3 separate regions of the Homo sapiens genome follow, and regions 1 and 2 are each linked to region 3. The links are contacts of gene promoters, found by promoter capture Hi-C in human tissues and cell types (Jung and others, 2019). All regions are on one chromosome and are shown on one strand. Each heading gives the region's core, a stretch centred on a gene start or on the middle of the fragment in contact. The rest is flanking DNA. Distances are from core to core; before and after follow the strand shown. Region 1 holds the start of RAB3D (RAB3D, member RAS oncogene family). Region 2 holds the start of ECSIT (ECSIT signaling integrator). Region 3 overlaps ZNF791 (zinc finger protein 791).

The links. The method cuts DNA at HindIII sites, captures the fragments that hold promoters and counts their contacts. A contact is called where the count stands out against the background at its distance.
Region 1: the fragment with the promoter of RAB3D here is called in contact with a fragment that was not itself captured in region 3 in 2 of the 25 tissues and cell types used here (heart right ventricle and small bowel).
Region 2: the fragment with the promoter of ECSIT here is called in contact with a fragment that was not itself captured in region 3 in 1 of the 25 tissues and cell types used here (dorsolateral prefrontal cortex).

Annotation. Positions count from the first base shown.
Region 1 is chr19:11,338,267-11,341,248 of GRCh38, forward strand. It overlaps RAB3D (RAB3D, member RAS oncogene family), which reads right to left and starts at 1,391. Exons shown (of 5, transcript NM_004283.4): 1 at 1,203-1,391. RefSeq lists a silencer at 1,174-1,433. The HindIII fragment of the contact is 13,813 bases long and covers 1,184-2,982 here.
Region 2 is chr19:11,527,579-11,530,430 of GRCh38, forward strand. It overlaps ECSIT (ECSIT signaling integrator), which reads right to left and starts at 1,556. Exons shown (of 8, transcript NM_016581.5): 1 at 1,484-1,556. The HindIII fragment of the contact is 19,805 bases long and covers 1-2,852 here.
Region 3 is chr19:12,628,542-12,631,504 of GRCh38, forward strand. ZNF791 (zinc finger protein 791) reads left to right here. Exons shown (of 4, transcript NM_153358.3): 4 at 1-2,963. The coding sequence ends at 719. Among named protein-coding and RNA genes, the nearest start is that of ZNF791, 19 kb to the left of the region's middle. The HindIII fragment of the contact is 6,065 bases long and covers 1-2,963 here.

The DNA.
Region 1 (2,982 bases), core at 141-2,640, 1.3 Mb before region 3:
GTTCAAGTGCAAGGCCGAGGGTAAGGGGCTCTGGCCCCTGCAGAACTAGATTCTGGAGAAGGCACAGGTGTGGACTTCGCCCCAGCGTGTGCAGCCGGTGTGGCCCAGGTGTAAGCTGGGGTGGGGTGGGGGGAGGACCTGCCAGCTGGATAAGCTGGATAGAGCCCCTGATTAAGGCTTGGGTGTTGACTTTGGCAGGTGTCAGCCACTGGGGCGCCTGCCGCCCACCAACTCATGCCAAATACAACCCCTTCTCTGAGTTCCAAGGGGAAGGGGTTTTCTATGTACAGGGCCCAGGTTTAGAGTCCAGTTCTACCCCCTAAATGGGTACTGCTATTTTCTATTTGTCAAAGGGGCCAGGCCTGTCTCCTTCTGCCCAAGGCTGACTCACTCCAGCCCCAGTCCACGGAGGCAGGAGTGAGAGTCCTTATACCCAAGGAAACGATCCCAGCCACTTAATTAACACAACCCCACCACCACGACCACTGCCGCCCACCCTTGGTCTTTCCAGGCAATCTGTCCCACGGCTAGGCTCCTTGAATCTGCCCACACTCCAACATGCTGCTTCATCCGAGTCCAAGGTGCTCCCTCAACCCTCATAACCTCTCCCAGGCCTCAGTTTCCCCAGCTGTCTATGGCCGCTGCGGGAACCGCACGGAGAGGCTGCAGAAGGCCTGGATGCAGGCGGGGCAGAGGCAGAGACAGCCCTGGCACAGCTATTTCTCAACTGCCTTTGGGGCTTTTTTCCATTTTAAACCAGGACCCAACCGGCCCCACCCCGTGTTCCAGGAGAACGAGTTTAAGGAGGGGAAGAGAAGAGGCAGGAAACCTTTCCCCACGCAGGGCAGGGCCGCAAGGCTGGGGCCCCCACCTCCCCCAGCCTTAGCTCACCTGTGTCAGTCGGTCCCGCCTCTTTCTAACCATCTGCCGACCCTCCCTCAAGCCTGGCCCCGGAGGGCTCGCCTCTGTTCCCCTTCACTAGATTTGGGGCGCCCCAGCCAATGCAGGTGGACTCAGGAGTTTCCCCCATCACCATATGGTCCCAACGCCTGTCCCCAGCTGGGCTCTCTGCCCCGCCCGCGCCCCATCAGCGCTTCCCAAGTGCCCAGCTGGGTGGGGGCGAGGGCAGAGGCGTTCCCCGCAGCCCCGCCTTTGTTCCCCAGACCCCCTACCTTCCTCCCAAACCCCCGTACCCCACAGACCTGCTCGGATGCGGAGGGGCCGGGTGGGCTGCGCTCCTTCCCAGGGGTGACCTCGCGTAGGGGGCGCCGCCTGCAGGGGTTCCGCCTGTGAACTCGCTGCGGCTTGGCCCTGGCCGCGACCCCGACCCCGCAGCCGCAGAAGCCAGCAGCCTGCAGCCACCCGGATCCCGCGCGGGCTCCGCCCAGAAGGCGGAGGAAGGGCCGTTCCCGGAGCGGGGGATGGGGGAGGACGAAGAGGGGCCGAGTCTTGGGCGGGGCTTTCAGAGAGCGGGTGGGAGGGGCTGGAAGCTGCACCAAGCGTCTAGAGCCCGTCCTAGCCAAGCAACATCTCATTTTCCCAGCTGCTTGTAAAGAGCTTCTACTATACGCACGGCTGTTAAAAGCATAGAGTCTTGGGCCTGGTTCGAGTCCCAGCTCCACCACTTTCTAGTCTTGTGGCTTTGGACGCGTTACTTAACCTCTTTGAGCCTCAGTTTCCCCATCCGTCAAGTAGCTCATAGCGAGAGTACCCAACCTCACAGAGTTGTGGGAGGATTCTGATCTGAGTTAGTGTTTGTCAAGTGCAGTGCCGGCCTTAAAGTAGGCTAGGCCAGGCGCGGTGGCCTGTAATTACAGCAGTTTGGGAGGCCGAGGCAGGAGAATCACTTGAGGCCAGGAGTTTGAGACCAGCTTGGGCATCGTAAGGAGACCTCATCTCTACTAAAAATAACAAAAATTAGCCAGGTGTGGTGGCGTGCGTCTGTAACCCCAGCTACTTGGGAGGCTGAGGCAGGAGGATTGCTGGAGACATCGAGGCTGCAGTGAGCCTTGATTGCACCACAGCACTCCAGCCTGGGCAACAGAGCAAGACCCTGTTTCAAATAAATAAAAATAAACGAGAGCTGGGCGCGGTGGCTTATGCCTGTAATCCCAGTACTTTGGGAGGCCAAGGCAGGCGGATCACTTGAGGTCAGGAATTTAAGACCAGCCTGGCCAACATGGTGAAACCTCATCTCTACTAAAAAAAAAAAAAAAAAAATACAAATATTAGGGGCTGGGCACGGTGGCTCACACCTGTAATCTCAGCACTTTGGGAGGCCGAGGTGGGCAGATCACCTGAGGTCGGGAGTTCGAGACTAGCCTGGCCAACGTGAAGAAACCCTGTCTCTACTAAAAAATACAAAATTAGCCAGGCGTGGTGACGCATGCCTGTAATCCCAGTTACTCTGGAAGCTGAGGCAGGAGAATTGCTTGAACCCGGAAGGCGGAGGTTGCAGTGAGCCGAGATCACGCCACTGCACTCCAGCCTGGGCAAAAAGAGCGAAACTCTGTCTCAAATAAATAAATAAATATACAAAAATTAGCCGAGCATGGTGGTGCACACCTGTAATCCCAACTACTTGGGAGGCTGAGGCAGGAGAATCGCTTGAACCCAGGAGGTGGAGGTTGCAGTGAGCCGAGATCGCGCCACTGCACTCCAGCCTAGACGATGGAGTGAGACTCTGTCTCAAAAAAAAAAAAAAAAAAATTAAAAAATAAATGAGGCTGGGCACAGTGTCTGATGCCTGTAATCCCAGCCCTTTGGGAGGCTGAGGCAGGAGGATTCCTTGAGCTCAGGAGTTCAAGGCCAGCCTAGGCAACATAGAGATCCCAACTCTACAAAAAATTTTTTTGAAAATTAGCTGGCCACAAAAAAAAAAAAAAAAAAAAAAAGAAAAAGAAAAAAAGAAAAAAGAAAAAAAAATTAGCTGACCATGGGGGCACATACATGTAGTCTTAGCTACTCCGGAGGCTGAGGCAG
Region 2 (2,852 bases), core at 306-2,805, 1.1 Mb before region 3:
ACTGAGGCTGGAGGATCCTTTAAGGTCAGTAGTTAGAGGTTGCAGTGAACCATGACTGCACTTGTGAATAGCCACTGCACTCTAGCCTGGGCAACATACTGAGATCCTGTCTCTAAAAATAAATAAATAGCCAGGGAGCAGTGGCTCATGCCTATAATCCTAGTGCTTTGGAAGTCCAAGTGGGGAGGATCGCTTGAGCCCAGGAGTTCAAGACCAGCCTGGACAACATAGCAGGACACGATCTTTACAAAAATTATTTTAAAAAATTAGCTGGACCTGGTGGTGTGCACCTGTAGTTCCAGCTACTGGGAAAGCTGAGGCAGGAGAATCACTTGAGCCATGGAGTTTGAGGCTGCAGTGAGCTATGGAGTGCACTGCACCACTGCACTCCAGGCTTGACGAACAAGTGAGATCCTGTCTCTAAAAAATAAAAATAAATAAATAAAATCAGATAGGGTCTACCCCTCTAAACTCAACTCCTACCACTGGCAGCTTCAGCTACACTGTTTCTGAAAGAAACTAAGTTTATCCCATCTCAGAACCTTTGTACTTGCTTTTCTCTCTGTCTAGAGCTTTCTTCCTCCAGATCTGCCCACAGCTGTCTCTGGTCATTTCAATGAAAGGTCTTCTTTGACCATCTCCCATTCCCCACATTCTAAAAGCCCTCATCACCCTATTAATTTTTGTTTCGGAGACAGGGTCCTGCTCTGTTGCCCAGGCTGGGGTGCAGTGGCACAATCACGGCTCACTACAGCCTCAACCTCCTGGGCTCAAGCAATCCTCCCACCTCAGCTTCCCGAGTAGCTAGGACTACAGGCGTGCACCACTACGCCCAGATAATTTTTTGTAGAGAACAGGGTCTTGCTATGTTGCCAAGGCTGGTCTCGAAACTCCTGGGCTCAAGCGAAATTCCCGACACCATTAACGCATTTTTAGTAACTTATCAGTATCTGAAATCACCTGTTTCGTTTATTTCTAATTTGTTCAAAGTCTGGTTCCCCCAGGAGATGAGAGATTTTTATCTATCTTCCTCATTGCTGTGTCTCCAGCACCAAGGACAGTGCCTGGTATATGACAGATGCCTAACGAGTAACAACTGAACGGAAACAAGCCTCAATTTCAAAAAAACACCTATAAATCTGAACCCCGAGGTATGGTGTACGTACAACAGCTTTGAAACCGGCTGCCAGGATTCTGGGTCTCTTGGGGGAAAAAGGCAGACGCGGATTCCAAATCCTGCCCGGTTGCCGACTTGCGGCGTGACCTCTCGCGAGGTCATCTGCAAAATGGGAGACTGGGGGCGTGAGGCGGCTGGCACAAGACAGGCGGCCTTTCCCAGCGCGTCCCCGCCCCCACTACGAAAGGTCATGGCGCCCTGGCCCTGCAGCTGGGTCCCTCCAGGGCTGCCCTCTCGCGCTGCCGGGTCCTGAAGGGCCCGCCTGCAGCCCAGCAGTTCGCGTTCGCCTACCCGCGCGCGACCTACCTACTCACGCGGCCAGCCGCGGACTCCAGGCCAGCTCTGTCTTGTTGCTGGGCGCTGCCATATTGGCCCAGAGAGCGTCCGGGTCAGGGAGCTCCAGGGAGGTAGCAAATCAAGAAAGCTGGTGTAATAGGTCCCGCCCACAACGCGAGGTGGGCCAATAGGAAGGCGGAAGGATCTGGGACCCGCCTCATAACGAGCCAGGCCCAGCCTCTAATGAGGCAAGACGCACTCCAGACCTGGGAACCTTGAAATGGCCCGGGAGGCTGGACTTGGGAGTCATAGTCTATGAATCCAGTCGCAGGCCCCAGCGGCTGAAATGAGAAAATGAATTAAAAAAAAACAAAAAGTGAAAGGGGGCCGGTACGGTGGCTCATGCCTGTAATCCCAGCACTTTGGGAGGCCAGAAGTTCGAGACCAGCCTGGGCAACATAGCGAGACCCCCTTATCTACAAAAAATTTAAAAATTAACTGGGCATGATGGCGCATGCTCATAGTCCCAGCTATTCGGGAGGCTGAAACGGGAGGATCGCTTGAGCCCTGGAGGTCGAGGCTACAGCGAGCCATGATTGCACCCCTGCACTCCAGCCTGGGCAACAGAGTGAGACCCTGTTTCTAAAAATAGTAATAATAAATAAATAGGGCAGGGCGCGGTGGCTCACGCCTGTAATCCCAACACTTTGGGAGGCCGAGGCCTGCGGATCACCTGAGGTCAGGAGTTCGAGACCAGCCTGGCCAACATGATGAAACCCCGTCTCTACTAAAAATACAAAGTTAGCAGGGCATGGTGGTGGGTGCCTGTAATCCCAGCTTCTCGGGAGGTTGAGGCAGGAGAATCGCTTGAACCCGGGAGACGGAGGTTGCAGTGAGCCAGGATAACACCACTGCACTCCAGCCTCAGCAACAGAGCGAGACTCTGTCTCAAAAAATAAATAAATAAATAAAAATTAGTGGGGCGTGGTGGCGTGCTCCTGTGATCCCAGCTACTCGGGAGGCTGAGGCACGAGAATTGCTTGAACCCAGGAGGTGGAGGTTGCAGCGAGCCGATATAGCACCACTGCACTCCAGCCTGGGCGACAGAGTGAGACTCCGTCTCAGTAAATAAATAAATAGGAAGGCCTCAGTGAGGTGTCCTTTGAGTAAAGGCCGGAGGAAGTGAGTGAGCCATCTGGATATCTGGGGAACGCTTTTGGCACTGGGAACAACAGCAAAGACTCTGTGTGGTCGGAGTGGAGTCTTTGGAGGAAATGGGATAAAACGAGGTGAGATTGAGTAATGGGGGCTCCTGGTCTCCCCCAGAAAGCACCAGATTTAGGCTGTTAATAACTAAGGTGGATAAGCACATAAAATGGGCTATTGGCAATAACAGTGT
Region 3 (2,963 bases), core at 317-2,816:
GTGCACGCCCAGCCTTTCGAGTACACGTGAGAGTGCATACTGGAGAGAAACCCTATAAGTGTAAAGAATGTGGGAAAGCCTTTAGTAGAATCAGTTACTTTCGAATACATGAAAGGACTCACACTGGAGAGAAACCCTACGAATGTAAAAAATGTGGGAAAACTTTCAATTATCCTCTAGATTTGAAAATCCACAAGAGAAATCACACTGGAGAAAAACCCTATGAGTGTAAGGAATGTGCAAAAACCTTCATTTCTCTTGAGAACTTTCGAAGACACATGATCACCCACACTGGAGACGGACCTTATAAATGTAGGGACTGTGGGAAGGTGTTCATTTTTCCTAGTGCGTTACGAACACATGAAAGAACTCACACTGGAGAGAAACCCTATGAATGTAAACAATGTGGAAAAGCCTTTAGTTGTTCTAGTTACATTCGGATACATAAAAGAACTCACACTGGGGAGAAACCTTATGAATGTAAGGAATGCGGGAAGGCCTTTATTTATCCCACAAGCTTTCAAGGACACATGAGAATGCATACTGGAGAGAAACCCTATAAATGTAAAGAATGTGGGAAGGCCTTTAGTCTTCACAGTTCCTTTCAAAGACATACAAGAATTCACAATTATGAGAAACCTCTTGAATGTAAGCAATGTGGAAAAGCCTTCAGTGTGTCCACATCCTTAAAAAAACATATGAGAATGCACAATCGATAGAAACTCTATAAATGTGAGAAATAGGAGAAAGTTTTCAATTCTAACAGATGCTTTCAAAGTTGTGAAAATTCCCACTGAAGAGAGAAATCCTGTCAATGTAAGTAATATAGAAAGCGAGATACAAGATGATTCATGTATAGTCAGGTACCACATAATCATGTTTCAGTCAGCAATGGACCATATAGGTTGGTAGCCCCATAAGATTATATAACACCTAAAACATTTCTATCAACCGCAATTTAGTAGCAGTAGTAACACCATAGTGCAGCACATTATTTAAGTGTTTATGGTGCTGGTGTAAACGTGCTGCACTTTCAGTTGTATAAAAGTACAAGACAGCGGCCGGGGACGGTGGCTCACGCCTGTAATCCCAGCACTTTGGGAGGCCAAGGCGGGCGGATCACGAGGCCAGGAGATCAAGACCATCCTGGCTAACACGGTAAAACCCCATCTCTACTAAAAATACAAACAATTAGCCGGGCGTGGTGGTGGGCGCCTGTAGTCCCAGCTACTTGGGAGGCTGAGGCAGGAGAATGGCATAAACCCAGGAGGCCGAGCTGACAGTGAGCTGAGATCCGGCCAACAGAGCGAGACTCTGTCTCAAAAAAAAAAAAAAAAAAAAAGTACAACACAGCTGGGCATGGTCACACCTGTGATCCCAACACTGGGAGACTAAGGCAGTAGGATTGCTTGATGCCAGGACTACTCTGGTCAACCTAGTGAGACCCTGTCTCTACAAAAAATAAAAACATTTTCTAAGTGTGGTAGCACACCCTGTAGTCCCATCTACATGGGAGGCTGAGGCAGGAGGATTGCCTGAGCCCAGGAGTTCAAGGCTACAGTGAACCAAGATCACGTGATGGCAGTCCAGCATGGGTGACAGTGAGACTGTATCAAAAAAAAAAAAAAAAAATTGGCTGGGCACAGTGGCTCATACCTGTAATCCCAGCACTTTGGGAGGCTGAGGTGGGAGAATCAGTTGAGGTCAGGAGTTCAAGACCAGCCTGGTCAACATGATGAAACCCTGTCTCCATTAGAAATACGAAAATTAGCTGGGCGTTCTGGTGTGCCTGTAGTCCCAGCTACTTGGGAGGCCAAAGCAGGAGAATCGCTTGAACCCGGGAGGTGGAGATTGCAGTGAGCTGAGATCTACCACTACACTCCAGCCTGGGTGACAGAGCGAGACTCCGTCTCGAAAAAAAAAAAATTACAGCACAGATGTGCAATATATACTTGATAATAAATGGCTAAGTTACTGGTTTATATATTTACAATCCTGTTTTAGAATGTATTCCTGTGTTTTTTTAACAGTAAGACAGTCTCAGGCAGGTCCTTAAGGAGATATTCCCGGAAAAACTTTGTTATGATAGGCGATGACGGCTCCATGTGCAGGACTGCCCCTGAACGTATTCTGGCGGGACAAAACATGGAGGCAGAAGACAATGATATTGATGATCCTCACCCCGTGTAGTCCTACACTAATGTGTGTTTGTGTCTTAGTTAGTCTTTAACAAAAATAGTTTAAAAAAATTTAATAGAAAAAGCTTATAGAATATGGACATAAAATATTTTTGTACAGCTGTACAATGTGTTTTAAGCTAAATTATTACAAAGTTTTTAAAAATAAGTTTATAAAGAAAATAATGTACAGTAAGTTAAGGTTTATTCATTATTGAGGAAAAAATGTTTTTATGAATGTAGTGTAGTCCAAGTGTACAGTGTTTATAAATTCTCCATTAGTGTACAGTAACATCCTGGGCCTTCGCATTCACTCACCACTCAACTGACTCACCCAGAGCAACTTCTAGTCCTGCAAGCTATGTTCATGGAGTGTCCTATGCAGGTGCATCCTTTTTTATCTTTTATACTGCATGTTTACTCTGTGTATTTTCTGTGTTTAGACTCATAAATACTTAACATTTTGTTACAATTTCCTACAGTGTTCAGTACAACAACATGTTGTATGGTTTATAGCCTAGTAGCAATAGACTGTACCATATAGTCTAGATGTGTTGTAGCTATACCATCTAGATTTGTGTAAGTTCACTTTGTGATGTTTGTACCATGAGGAAATCACCTACAACACGTTTCTCAGAACATATACCCATGATTAAGCAATCTCTGCCTGTAAAATGCTCCAGAAAATTCACACCATGATATAAATTCATCACACACGATATAAAAGTTAAGGCAAGGCATGGTGGCTCATGCCTGTAATCCCAGCACTTTGGGAGGCCAAGGCAG